Linked DNA regions of Homo sapiens: all the other regions are linked to region 1. The links are contacts of gene promoters, found by promoter capture Hi-C in human tissues and cell types (Jung and others, 2019). All regions are on one chromosome and are shown on one strand. The core of a region is centred on a gene start or on the middle of the fragment in contact, and the rest is flanking DNA. Distances in the headings are between cores, read along the strand shown. Region 1 holds the start of WWC1 (WW and C2 domain containing 1). Region 2 overlaps WWC1 (WW and C2 domain containing 1). Region 3 overlaps TENM2 (teneurin transmembrane protein 2). Region 4 overlaps WWC1 (WW and C2 domain containing 1).

Region 1 (3,292 bases), core at 576-3,075:
CCAGGCCAACAACAAAGCATCTTGGAGCCTCATCTGTAAAATGGGTATAATAAATAGACTTTCCTATGCCAGAGGGTTGTTATGAAGATTGAGATCATGTATTCAAAGAACCTAGCACCAGGTTGGCTTTGCTTTGGGGCTACTGCTCTAATCAATAGTGGGTTTTTATGTAGTAAAGGCTTGACCCAAACAGAGGAAGTGTAGAGGGCTGTGGGAATTCCCCCATAAAGGAATGGGGAATTCCAACTTTTGGGTGTTGAGGGCCAGTCTGAGGCTGGTGTCCCTGGACTCTGGTGCCTGGTATTTATGGAATGAAGGAGGGCCAAGCACTGAGCCCCGAGGCCTGGCCTCAGGGAAGGAATTAACTATGAAGAAGGCATTTGGAGGCGAGGCTCACTCTGGTGGGTCTTTTCTGTCAAGAGGAGATGAGACCACAAACATGATTCCCTCTCTGGCTCAGCAACACCCTGGTCCATACAGCACAGGGTGCTGGTTCTTCTGGAAGACCGTGGGGCTCAGGCAAGAGAAGACACCCAACTGGGCTTCATTCGACCAGTCCAGCTTCCTGCCATATGCCGAGGGCAAAAAAGGGTTAAATTCCCACTCAGTACACAGATGTAAGAGGAGATGGGGAAGTGAACAGCCAGTTGATCATTCACTCAATCATGCTAGCTTGCTTTTTGTATTTAATGCTACATTTTAAATTTATTTATTTATTTATTTGAGACAGAGTCTCGCTTTGTTGCCCAGGCTGGAGTGCAGTGGTGCGATCTTGGCTCACTGCAACCTCCACCTCCCAGGTTGAAGTGATTCTCATGCCTCAGCCTCCCGAGTAGCTGGGACTACGGGCGTGCACCACCACGCCCAGCTAATTTATTATTATTATTTTTTAGTAGAGATGGGGTTCACTATGTTGGCCAGGCTGGTCTGAAATCCTGACCTCAGGTAATCTGTCTGCCTCACCCTCCCAAAGTGCTGGGATTACAGGCGTGAGCCACCGCACCCACTAATTCTACATTTTTAATTTCTCAAGAAACATTGTGTCTCTGATTGTTTTATTCTCTTGAACATTTTTCAAGATGGAATTTTGCTTTGCTTACTTTCTTCTTTTTCATAGCCCCACTTCTCCCAAATCCATAACACACCTACCTCAAAGTATCACAGGAAAGAAAGCCTGTGAAGCTGCTAGCCACAGCCTGTCACAAGTAAGTCCTCAATTTAGCTAACAATAACAATGGCATTACTATTACTTTTACAAAGTGTTTTCCCTGACACCCTCTGGAAGTCCTCCCAGGAAAGCGGATCCACAGCGCTCCTAATTTTAGGGACCCTGAGGGGAGCCAGCTACATTTCCAAATGGTGGGGAAGGGTGGAGGGTGGGCGAAACGTCGTAGGGAGAGTTGAATAGAAGGAGACAGATGGTGCCTGTGTTGGGGGAAGGGACCAGAGATCCTGGAAAACTTATGTTTCCCAATTCGCAAGAATGTTTCCATTTAACCACTTCTTGCCTGACTCCTGATTCTACACCACAGAAAAGCAGGGAGTTTTTAAGATTTGGGGCCACCTGTGCCGAGAGCCTGGCTACTCCGGGTGGAGAGAGACAGGAGCGTTTTAAGTACAGGCAGAGCGGTTTTTGGCCCAGCCCCCTAGGTCTGGGACGCAGGTGAGGGGCGGTCTCTCCTTCCCCTGGCAGGGGCAGCGTAAGGGTGGCCGGCGGCTGGGACTGTCCCACGAGGGGGCGCGTCTCGGGCCCTAGGACCCGCCCTCGAGGCGCTGCGCGCGGGGAGGGGACCCGGGAACCCAGGCGCCCGGCGCTCCGCCTCCCGTTTCCGGGGCAGCGCGGTTACCTGCACCGCCCGAGCCGCACCTGGCGGAGGCAGAAGTCACAAACCCGGCGAGCTCAGAGCGGTGGAGCGGAGAGGAGGGACGGCACCCGGCTGCAGGGAGGAGGGAGGCGGCAGCGGCAGCGGCGGCGTGGAGGGCGCAGCGCGCCGCGCGGCGGAGGAGGGCAGACGGCGGCGGCGGCGGCGCTCGGCTCGCTCTGCCCGGCCGGCTGGGCGCGCACCCGGGCTCGCACCGCGCCGCTGCGGACGCACATGGCAGCGTGAGAGGCCGGCGGCGGGAGGAGCGGGCGGCGCCGGGTCGGGGCTGCAGGGCCGCATGGACAGCGGCGCCACCCCGGCCGGCCCCTACTAGGGCCCCCCATCTGCGGGCGCCACCCCCCGGATCATGGTGCCTCGGCGGCCGCCCGGGCTAAGAGCGGCCGGCTGGAGCCGCTGAGCCCCCGCTGCGGCCGGGAGCTGCATGGGGGAGCGCCGGCAGCGCTTGGGAAGATGCCCCGGCCGGAGCTGCCCCTGCCGGAGGGCTGGGAGGAGGCGCGCGACTTCGACGGCAAGGTCTACTACATAGACCACACGAACCGCACCACCAGCTGGATCGACCCGCGGGACAGGTAGGACCCTGGAACCCTCCTCCGTGCCCCCACACCCCCGCCTGGGCCCCCACCTGCCCCTGGAGCCGCCGGCCGGGACTGGGAGGGGGCAGGGGAGCTCTGCGTGCCTCTTGAGCTCTCTTCAGTTCGCCACCCCCTGCTCCCCCCAACCTTCTGGAGCGCTGCTCCCGCCTCAGTGGGCCACCGAGAGGAGGCGCCTGCCGGGGAGCTGGCCCAGGCTGCCCCACCGCCATCCCCAGTTGGAGGACTTAGGCCCCAGCCGGCACCTGCCCGGAGTTTTGACCTTAAGCTCTAGCCCCGCCCGCCCCCTTTAGGAAGAGAGGTCGGGCGGGGGCGGGGGTTGGGGGAGCGACCTAGCCGGGTGAAGCCGGGTCTTCCCGGGGAGGCTTCCACCCAGCGTGGGGGGTGGGCGGATGGGGATGGGGAAGTGTCCGGTTAGAGGGGGTGGTCAAGACCCCAGGATTCCGTGGGAGACCACTGGAGAGAGGGCACTCGGCGCAGAGGAAGGCAACCTGAGGTGTGCTTTTTGACAGGTGCCTTGGAAGCTGCTGAGAACAGCACAGGGGCAGCCAGGGGGCCCTGGAACCCGAGGGTGGGGAGGAAGTGAAGAAGCGGGGGAGGGCAGATGAGGGAGACTGGTTATCCAGGAATCTGGCAGCAACTTGGAAGCTGTTAGGATGGAGATGGAGGTGAGAGGCCTCCCGGAAAGCCTTGCCCCTCGCCTCTTTCTCCTCTCTTTCTTCCCTGATCGGGGAAGGGGGCGGCGAGGCTCCTCAGCCCTGCACCAGCGGGACCTGACCTTGGTGGGTACCAGGCCGCTGTAGGTTGAGATAATGTGCA
Region 2 (3,292 bases), core at 540-3,039, 52 kb after region 1:
TAACGGAAGAAAGTTCTGTTACCTCTTGATAGCAGCTTTTGTGTCCACCCCATTTCCCCAGGTGGGCCGAGAGCATTGGTAGCTAATTGTAATCACTCCACACAATTAGAGCTGTGCTGCCCCTTCCCCTAGCCAGTGGACTTCGGTACCCAGAGTGAAGCCTGCAGCCTGTGTCAGACACCAGCATGTGTAATGGGAGGAAACAGCTTCCATGTCCAGAGCGCTGGTTCCAAGGGCATCTTCAGGCACTGAAATTGGCACTGAATAGGCATGGGGAAGTTTCAGTGGAAGTGAATGGGGAGCACTGGGGGGACTTACTGAAAGACTTTCAGATACAGGGAGTATTTGACACAGCTCACCTCCAACTGGCCTGGTTTTATTCTGAATTGTTTGGAGCAGAGGAAGGGAGAGGGAAAACATAAAGATCAGGGTAATAGGTTCTAGGAGCTGACGGAGCTGATGGAGCTGAACAGGGTAGGGACCATGGAAGGTAGAGCTATTGCGCAAAAATTAGGCAGCCTCTAGGCAGGCAGGCACTTGGCTGGATCCAAGTGGCAGTGTTAGGTGCTGTGGGTGAATGCACACCCACAAGTATATGCACATTCCCTGCCTCCTGGAAGCTCACAGTTCAGCCAGTGATACATGTATAGAAGTTTGAAGCAGTAACATTAGATATGAGGTTGAATTCATGCTGACCGGATTTCTGTGGACTTCGTGGAGGCCCTGAAGGCTTTGTAGGATCTAGAAAGGCAGAAACAGATGTGGTGGGGGATAGGTTGAAGAGTCGTGGATGACTCACTAAGACATTGAGGTGGGAAGGTATGCAGGGACTATACCACACTGTGTGGAGGAGGGGGTTCATGGAAAGGGTAAGAACTCCCAAAGGGTAGATGAAGAGCCATGAAGACCCAGCTAAGGAAACCCATGAATGACTGGGATCCACTGGAAAGTCTTGAGCAAAGAACCGGAGGATGCAAGTGCTGCAGAGAACAGACCCCATACTGTGGACGGATTGAGAGCACAGTGGGGGCCCCTCAAGCTGTTCCACACTCTGGGCAGTAGGGTTTATCCAAGTGCCCACCACCAAGTATCTGGGCACTAGGCAGGGAGCAAGGGGTGTTTCCAGTTCCAGTGTTAAAAAATTCCATCCAATTTGTAGGTTCCAAGGAAGGATTGGGCTCCCAGAAGCTTGGAGTTCTTGTTTTATGACCACCATCCAGCCCTAAGAGCCTGGGGGGTTTGTATGCATTTTCATTGCGCAGATGGACCTCCCAATTTTCTCAACTTTACTTCCCTTTCACATTTGCACAGACCATATAATCATGGTTTTAAAGGTCATAAAGTTCACTGTGCTAGGAGATACAGAAATACTTTCTTGATGACGGGGCCAAACGTTCATTAAGTGCTTTCATGTGCCCTGCATTTGAATTTATTCATGATAGCTTCAACATTCTGAGTGTTTACTGTGGGGCAGGCACTGTGCTAACTGTGTATTATCTTGTATACTTTTCAGGACAAGTGAAAGTGATGACCCCATTTAATAGATGAAGAAAACTGACACTCAAAGAAGGGAAATAACTTGCCCAAGATCACAGAGCTCAGGTTGGCTGGACTCTAGGACATCCCATGCCTCCACACCATGCTGCTTGTCAGCAGCAGCACGCAGAGCTGGTTGCAAAGGAGGGGCTGACATATATTAAGAGTTGAGGCCGGGCGTGGTGGCTCACGCCTGTAATCCCAACACTTTGGGAGGCCGAGGTGGGCGGATCACAAAGTCAAGAGGTCAAGACCATCCTGACCAACATGGTGAAACCCCGTCTCTACTAAAAATACAAAAATTAGCTGGGCGTGGTGGCGTGTGCCTGTAATCGCAGCTACTTGGGAGGCTGAGGCATGAGAATCACTTCAACCCAGGAGGCGGAGGTTGCAGTGAGCTGAGATCATGCCACTGCAGCCTGGGCGACACAGTGAGACTATGTCTCAAAAAAAAAAAAAAAAAAGTTGAACTTTTGCTTCTGGGATGTTTATGTTTTTTCCTAGTCTTCAGGGGTTCAGGGCTCTCAGATGTCTCCCCCACCATACCTCCACTCAGTCTTCCACTGATGACATTTCTTAATAATTCACGTGCTTCCCCCTCGGCTCAGTTACACATTGGAGAACACTGCTGCATCTGAACCACTGTAGCTGACAAGCTATCATGCAGCTCACCCAAACAGCAGCTTGCAAGGCCTATCCATTCTGAACATTTGGAATGGAACTCTTCTGATCCTTATTTTCCACCTAGAACAGTCATAATGGGGCAATGGGAATGTATTGATTGTCACTGTTTTGCTTGTATACCTTGGACTGTTTCTGCAAAAGGAGATATGTTTGAGTGTTTTAAGGCAGCCTTGCAGATAGCTTCTAAAAAGAATTCACTGGCCTGAAAAAATGATTCCTAGCCTGCAGAACTTTCATTTGTCTTCCCTGTGCTTGAGAGAGTTGGGTAGCCCACAGGAAAGAACAAGTGGTGAAAACCTGGCTTCTAATCCTAAAGCTTCCAACAGCGAGTTATGGGGTCTTGGGCACATTCTTTACATTTCAGGCTCGGTTTTCTCATCTGTAGAATGTGAGTGTTACTTTTCTCCTCCAGAATTGTCCTGTGGGTCAAGATGAGATAGCAGATGTCATAAGAGCTTTGTAAGCTACAAAGTAGATGTATATGTGTGGGATAATAGTACACAGTTTCCTGAACTAACTCATGGAGTTCTTGAAGACATCAGATGAAACAGTAGATGGGAAAATTCTGTGAAGGGAAGAAACTCTGAGCATCTCTGAAGCAGGTGCTCTTGCTCAAGCCTTAGCATTGCGTCTGTCACAGCAGGAAGCAGGGGCTGCTTGACAAAGCAGTGCAGGGGGTTCATATTCCAAGGGGAGGTTTTATTTAGAAGAGAAATTACTTAAAATAGAAGTCAAACATTTATAGTAAATATTGGGGGGAAAAGATTTGATCAGGCCTTCATTTTGAGAAATGAAACTAAAAATTTTAAAGTATATTTATACTGTATTTAACAACATACTGCAACCATGCCCCAGTTCTTAGTTTGAACAAAGTGTTGATTTATTTTTTGTGTAATTATTTGGAGACAATGAGAATAGCAGAAAAGGACATTTTTCTCTTCTCGTTTGACTTTCCCACCAGGCTCATAAGGAAGGTCATTTTTACAAAATATTGAAGGTTTTATCTGTTTTCCTGTGGCCTTGTTTAACCCCTTGGTATCACTGAAATCCTTCTCTTTTATTATTTTATTTT
Region 3 (3,292 bases), core at 582-3,081, 50 kb before region 1:
ACAGCTGGGCACGGTGGCTCATGTCTGTAATACCAGCACTTTGAGAGACTGAGGTAGGCAGATCACTTGAGGTCAGGAGTTTGAGACGAGCCTGACCAACATGGCGAAACCCCGTCTCTACTAAAAAAATGTAAAAATTAGCCAGGCATGGTGGTGCACCTCTGTAGTCCCAGCTACTCGGGAGGCAGAGACATGAGAATCACTTGAACCCAGGGGGCAGAGGTTGCAGTGAGCCGAGATCGTGCCACTGCACTCCAGCCTGGATGACAGAGCGAGACTCTGTCTCAAACAAATAAAAATCAACAAGACCCAAACCCCTATTCCCTGAGGAGCTGATTCAGCAGGCGTGGAGCCAGCCGAGCAGCAGAGCTTTAAGAGAGTGTCCCATGTGGTTTAGAATTGCATGCTTGATGGAAAGCCTGTAGTCCAACACCCCTCAATCCTAGAGGTGTACAACCTGGAGGTTAAGACAGCAAGCTCTGTATGGGGATCCTAGCTCTACCACTGAGTATTTATCTAAACTTGAGCAAGTCACTTAAACCCATCTATATCTTGTGTGCAAAATGGGGATGATAATAATGCCTGCCTGAGAGTGTTGTTGTGTAAATTAGACAAAACAAGGGCAATGCTGAGAATAACACTCAGCCTGTGTAAATGCTCAACATGTTGCTGTTGCTGTGGTTTTTCTTCCTTGTATACCAGAGCAGACACCAAAGCCTGGCATTAGCTGACACTCAATGTTCAATAATTAATAAATGCACTAGGGCCCTATGATATGAGCAAAAAGAAAAAAAAATATAAGAAAAGGGAAGGAGGAAAAACTAAGGATGGCCAAGGGGATGGAAATAAGTAGGCATGATGGCAAGTCCCCAGCAGTTGCCTCCAAAAACCCTGGAAATCCTTCCTCATTGTTGCATCATTCATTCTGCCTAACAAAATGTTGGAGAGGTCTTGAACCAAAATCTGAAACCCATAGGTTTAAGAATGATGGTGGCCTTCCGCAGTTGTCCCAGATGAACCAACCCGATGTGACCAAGCTTCTGTTGGCAGAGGAGAAGACCTATCTTTCTGACCACCACTGTGTGTTTTGCTCTGAAAATGATGGCTCCAATCCCGTATAATTCAGACGGCATTAACTTTTGGACCTGTTTTTAAAAAAATAAAAAATCCTACTACTCAGCCTTTGCCTTCTTGACTATTCCCAGTTGCTGGAAGTTGTTGATAGGAATCTTCCACTTGAAGTTAGGGTTCCTTATAATCCCAAGAACTCACCACCTTTATTTCCCTCCCCATGCTTTGATGCATTCTCTTTTCTTTTTCTTTTTGTTCTTTTTTTTTTTGAAACAGAGTCTCACTCTGTCCCCCAGGGTGGGGTGCAGTGGCATGATCTTGGCTCACTGCAACCTCCACCTCCTGGGTTCAAACAATTCTCCTGCTCAGCCTTTTGGGTAGCTGGGATTATAGACACATGCTACCATGCTTGGCTAATTTTTTTTTTTTTTTTTTTTAGTAGACACAGGGTTTCACCATGTTGGCCAGGCTGGTCTCAAACTCCTGACCTCAGGTGATCTGCCAATCTCAGCCCCCTAAAATGTTGAAATTACAGACATGAGCCACACGCACCTGGCCTATGCATCCTCTTTTCTAATTGTCCTATAATAAATATTCTATCCTCTCTCTGAGATGACCTTATAGAAACAGCAATGGTTTGGAGAATCTGTAGTCCTGGGTTCAGATTCCACTTCTGCCACTTGTCTAGTTATGGGACTCCTGTAGACCTCAGTTGCTCTTATGTAAGATAGTTTCTATGTCATGAAAGTGAAAATGGGATCAGGTATGTAAAGTACCTAGCATAGCACCTGCCAAAGTATCAGGGGCTTGTATCAATTTAGATTTGTTTCCACCGCTAGTAACAGAGATTAGCAATAGCAAGGGTTTAAACAGGATTTACGCTTATTATTTTCCTATGATCTGAAAGGAGCTTAGGGAAAGCAATCCTTGGCTGTATGGATGAACACTGAAGACACCTAGATCAACAGAGATCTAGACTCTTTTTCTCTGGATAGGCCATCATCCTGGAGGTCTCCAGCCCCAAAGTCACCTCATAGTCACAAGGTAAATGCTGGAGCTCCAGCCATCACATACACATTTCACCCAGGAAAAGGAGGAAAGGGAAGAATTAAAGATTGCCTAGCTCTCAGCTGAGTCAATTTCCTTTAAGAATATTTCCCAGAAGACCAGCCAACAACAACCACTTACATCTTGTTGGCCACCCGTATCTCTGAAGGAAGCTGCGAAATGTGTTTCATTACCTGGGCACAAAGCTGTTTCCCAGAATGCAAGTGTCTGTGGTATTAGAATTATTCCTTGTCCCACCCCCTCACACCCCCAAAGCTGCAATGTGGAGCGTTCAAGGGCTGTGAAAATGCTTCACAGTCTGTTCATCATTTGACACATTTCAGGGCACTCAATGGACATACAATACAGGAAGCAGTAAAGCTGGTGAAGTGTATAAGAAGTTAACTGGTTAAAGTCTGAAGGCCTAAGTTCCAGACCAATCCAACCACTTCACTGCTGTGTGACCTTGAGCAAGTTTTGTAACCACTCTGTTTGAAGCTTTTTTTATCATTTGTCAAATGGTCTTTGTGAGCAACAACTCAAACAATGGATGCAAAATGCCTAACACAATGCCTGTATATATTCGTCCTCAGCATATATTAAAGTCATCATTACTATCAGCTGGGCGTGGTGGCTCACACCTGTAATCCTAGAACTTTGGGAGGACAAGGTGGGTGGATCACCTGAGGTCAGGAGTTCGAGACCAGCCTGGCCAACATGGTGAAACCTCGTCTCTACTAAAAATACAAAAATTAGCCCAGTATGATGGCACATGCCTCTAATCCCAACTACTCAGGAGGGAGGCTGAGGCAGGAGAATCACTTGAACCCGGGAGACAGAGGTTGCAGTGAGCTGAGATTGCACCACTGCACTCCAGCCTGGGCAACAGAGTGAGACTCTATCTCAAAAAAAAAAAAAAACTTATTATTACTATCATCACCACCATCACTACCATCATTATTACCAGTAAGTGCTGTTGAATTATTAGGGTAAAGTGAGGAGGTACCAGACATCTCTCGAGTCTCTTCCTTTCGCCTATTTACATCATCCCTTGCCTTCAGCAGCCACCCCAGGGATGTCTGGATTTGCAGTCAGTGAAGTTGTGAGAGCCTGGGCTGAGTCTGGTTCATTTCATTCACTTCCAGCCACCCACTCAGGGCTAGCTGAATCTCAG
Region 4 (3,292 bases), core at 217-2,716, 34 kb after region 1:
AGGAAAATCATGTGGAAAACTACACCTAGACACATCATAGTCAAACTGCTGAAAACAAAAGATGAGAAAAATCTTAAAATCATCAGGGAATAACACACAGGAGAACAATAGGAATTACATACAGGAGAACAGTAAGAATACTGCGGACTTCTCATCAGAGACGATACAAACCAAAACATAACTGAATGACATCTCTAAGGTGCTGAAAGGGAAAAATACTGTCAACTTAACAATTCTGTATCCAACCACAAGTATCCTTAAAATGAAGATAAAATCCAAACATTTTCAGATAAAATAAATTGCTTAGAGAAAGTATCACTAGCACAGTTATACAATAAGAAATGTTAAAGGAAATTTTTCAGGGCCAGGTGCAGTGGCCCATGCCTGTAATCCCAGCACTTTGGGAGGCTGAGGCGAGCGGATCATGACGTCAGGAGTTTGAGACCAGCCTGACCAACATGGGGAAACCCTGTCTCTACTAAAAGTACAAAAATTAGCCAGGCTGGTGGTGCTCACCTGCAGTCCCACCTACTCAGGAGGCCGAGGCAGGAGAATCGCTTGAACCTAGGAGGCAGAGGTTGCAGTGAGTTGAGACTGTGCCGCTATACTCCAGCTTGGGTAACAGAGCGTGACTCTGTCTCAAAAAAAAAATAAATAAATTTTTCAGGCCAAAGGAAGATGATATCAGGTGGAAACTTAGATCTACGTGAGAAATTAAAAGAGCACCAGAAATAGAAAAAACTAAAAATTTCTTCATTTCTTTAAAAGATAGTTGACTCTTTAGAGCAAACATAATAATGGTGTATTGTGGATGATTTTTTTTTTAAAAGCAGAACAGAAAACAAGAAACAGGTAAGACAAATAGACAACAAATGGCAAATTGGTAGACTTAAATCCAGCTATATCAATAATTCAGTAAAAGTAAATGGACTAAACACTTTAATTAAAAAGTAGAAAAAAAGAACAAGACTCAAGTATATAGCCTGCCTGTAACAGGTTCACTTTAAATATAAATACATAGGTTACAAGTAAAAGGATAGGAAGGATATACCATACCAATACTAATCAAAAGAATATTGGAATGGCTGTCAGCATGGCATGCAGAGAGCTTTTACAATAATAGGGTGATTCATCAAAAAGACATGACCATCCTAAATGTGTAGACACCTAGTAGCTGAGTTCAAATACCTGAATAAATGACTGGATCCAGTAGAGCAAGCTTTCCAGCTCTTTGCAGGGGAGAGGACAGATGGAGCCATTTCCTCATTCCAGTCCTGATCTCCTTTGACTCGCTGGCAAGGGCAGAAGTGGGCAGAAGCAAGCTAACCTCCATGGCCTCATTCTGTGCATAGCATTGAGACCACGTGTGTCCTCCTTGTCCTCTGAGATGGCAGGCCCTGGGGCCTTCTGATAGGAGCCCCTACCAACAGCTCCCACAGGGTACCCCACCCTAGCTTTTCTTGCCATGAAGAGAGCTTTCTGGAACCTGCCAAGCTCACGTGTGATGCCAGTCAGGACTTGGGGCCATGCTCGCTGAGATTGGCAGGGGCTGGGGTCCTGGAGTGGTGGATGGCATCATTGTCAGTCTCTGGGAACTCTGGGTGTCCTAGGACACAGGAGAAGGTGGCAGTGTCCGCCCTCAGGCTGGTTCCTGGCATTCAGATACTGACAGGAGCTGAGTCAGCACCAGGTGGGGCAGTGGGGAGGGGAATTTTTAAGCAATAATGAAAAGTTGCCTGGAAGAGGAGGAGAAGCTTCCTGGATAGGCTGTATCTGGTGGCAAAGAATTCCATCATTTACAGGCAGTCCCATTTGCACTGACATTCCATGTGAGAAATGATTTCTTTTCCTTTTTAAAAAATTGTGGTAAAATATACATAACATAAAATTAATCATCTTAACCATTTTCAACGGTAGAGTTTAGTGCATTAATTATATTGTTATTATGCCACCATCACCACCATCCATCTCCAGAACTCTTTTCATCTTCCTACACCCACTAAACAATTCCCCATTCCACCCTGCCCCCAGCCCCTGGAAACTACTATTCTGTCTCTGGCTCTATGAGTTTGACTACTCTAGATACCTCATATAAATGAAATCCCATAGTATTTGTCCTTTGTGACAGGTGGTTTCACTTAGCATTATGTGAAATAATACATAAGACTCATCCATGTTGTAGACTGTGTCAAAATTTCCTTCCTTTTTAAGGGTAAATCATATTCCCTTGTATGTTGATATCACATTTTGCTTTTCTGTTCCTCTGTCGGTGGACATTTGGGTTGCTTTCACCTTTTGGCTATTTGTGAATAATGCTGCTAGGAATGTGAGTGGACAGTAATGATTTTTTGTTTTGTTTTGTTTTAAGGTAATAAGGCGTAAATGGGGATAGGAATTAGTGGCTCAGGACACCGACCTGATAGTCTTTTTTTTTTTTTTTTTTGGGACGGAGTTTTGCTCTTGTTGCCCAGACTGGAGTGCAATAGCGTGATCTCGGCTCACCGCAACCTCCGCCTCCCAGGTTCAAGCGACTCTCCTGCCCCAGCCTCCCTACTAGCTGGGATTACAGGCATGTGCCACCACGCCCAGCTAATTTTGTATTTTTAGTAGAGACAGGGTTTCTCCATGTTGGTCAGGCTGGTCTCGAACTCCCCACCTCAGGTGATCCGCCCGCCTCAGCCTCCCAAAGTGCTGGGATTACAGGCATGAGCCACCGTGCCCGGCCCCGACTTGATAGTGTTATTTGTTGTTGTTGTTGTTGTTTTTAGATGGAGTCTAGCTCTGTAGCCCAGGCTGGAGTACAGTGATGCGATCTCAGCTCACTGCAACCTCCGCCTCCTGTGTCCTGGTTCAAGCAATTCTTCTGCCTCAGCCTTCCAAGTAGCTGGGATTACAGGCACGCGCCACCATGCTAATTTTTGTATTTTTAGTAGAGATGGGGTTTCACCATGTTGGACAGGCTGGTCTTGAACTCCTGACCTCATGATCTGCCTGCCTCAGCCTCCCAAAGTGCTGGGATTACAGGTGTGAGCCACCGTGCCCGGCCGGACCGGATAGTCTTATTTCGCATTTGTAGAAACCTAGAACAAAAATAAGCATGTGGGAAAGTTTATTCTGCAAATCTGCATTTTTGAAGGGACAGAGCTGCTGAGAGCCTTTGGTGGTTGAGGTCTCTTGACTCATTCCCACCCTTCTATGCACTGGCCATATGCAGGCCAGTGTCTGAGTTAAGGTGTCATTTCTTGCTTTGGTTATTGCAACAGTCAGCTAACGGTAACCAGGCTCCAAGATC

The links. The method cuts DNA at HindIII sites, captures the fragments that hold promoters and counts their contacts. A contact is called where the count stands out against the background at its distance.
Region 2: a fragment that was not itself captured here is called in contact with the fragment with the promoter of WWC1 in region 1 in 3 of the 25 tissues and cell types used here (H1 embryonic stem cells, IMR-90 fibroblasts and mesendoderm cells).
Region 3: a contact is called between a fragment that was not itself captured here and the fragment with the promoter of WWC1 in region 1, in 1 of the 25 tissues and cell types used here (psoas muscle).
Region 4: a fragment that was not itself captured here is called in contact with the fragment with the promoter of WWC1 in region 1 in 6 of the 25 tissues and cell types used here (IMR-90 fibroblasts, dorsolateral prefrontal cortex, neural progenitor cells and 3 more).

Annotation. Positions count from the first base shown.
Region 1 is chr5:168,289,820-168,293,111 of GRCh38, forward strand. It overlaps WWC1 (WW and C2 domain containing 1), which reads left to right and starts at 1,826. Exons shown (of 23, transcript NM_015238.3): 1 at 1,826-2,452. The coding sequence starts at 2,334. RefSeq lists an enhancer at 375-454 and silencers at 1,599-2,118, 2,219-2,638. The HindIII fragment of the contact is 18,450 bases long and covers 1-3,292 here.
Region 2 is chr5:168,341,835-168,345,126 of GRCh38, forward strand. All of the region lies in intron 1 of WWC1 (WW and C2 domain containing 1), which reads left to right. Among named protein-coding and RNA genes, the nearest start is that of WWC1, 52 kb to the left of the region's middle. The HindIII fragment of the contact is 5,637 bases long and covers 1-3,292 here.
Region 3 is chr5:168,239,934-168,243,225 of GRCh38, forward strand. The region is part of intron 27 of TENM2 (teneurin transmembrane protein 2); the gene reads left to right. Among named protein-coding and RNA genes, the nearest start is that of TENM2-AS1, 9.2 kb to the left of the region's middle. The HindIII fragment of the contact is 5,657 bases long and covers 1-3,292 here.
Region 4 is chr5:168,323,792-168,327,083 of GRCh38, forward strand. The region is part of intron 1 of WWC1 (WW and C2 domain containing 1); the gene reads left to right. Among named protein-coding and RNA genes, the nearest start is that of WWC1, 34 kb to the left of the region's middle. The HindIII fragment of the contact is 5,949 bases long and covers 1-3,292 here.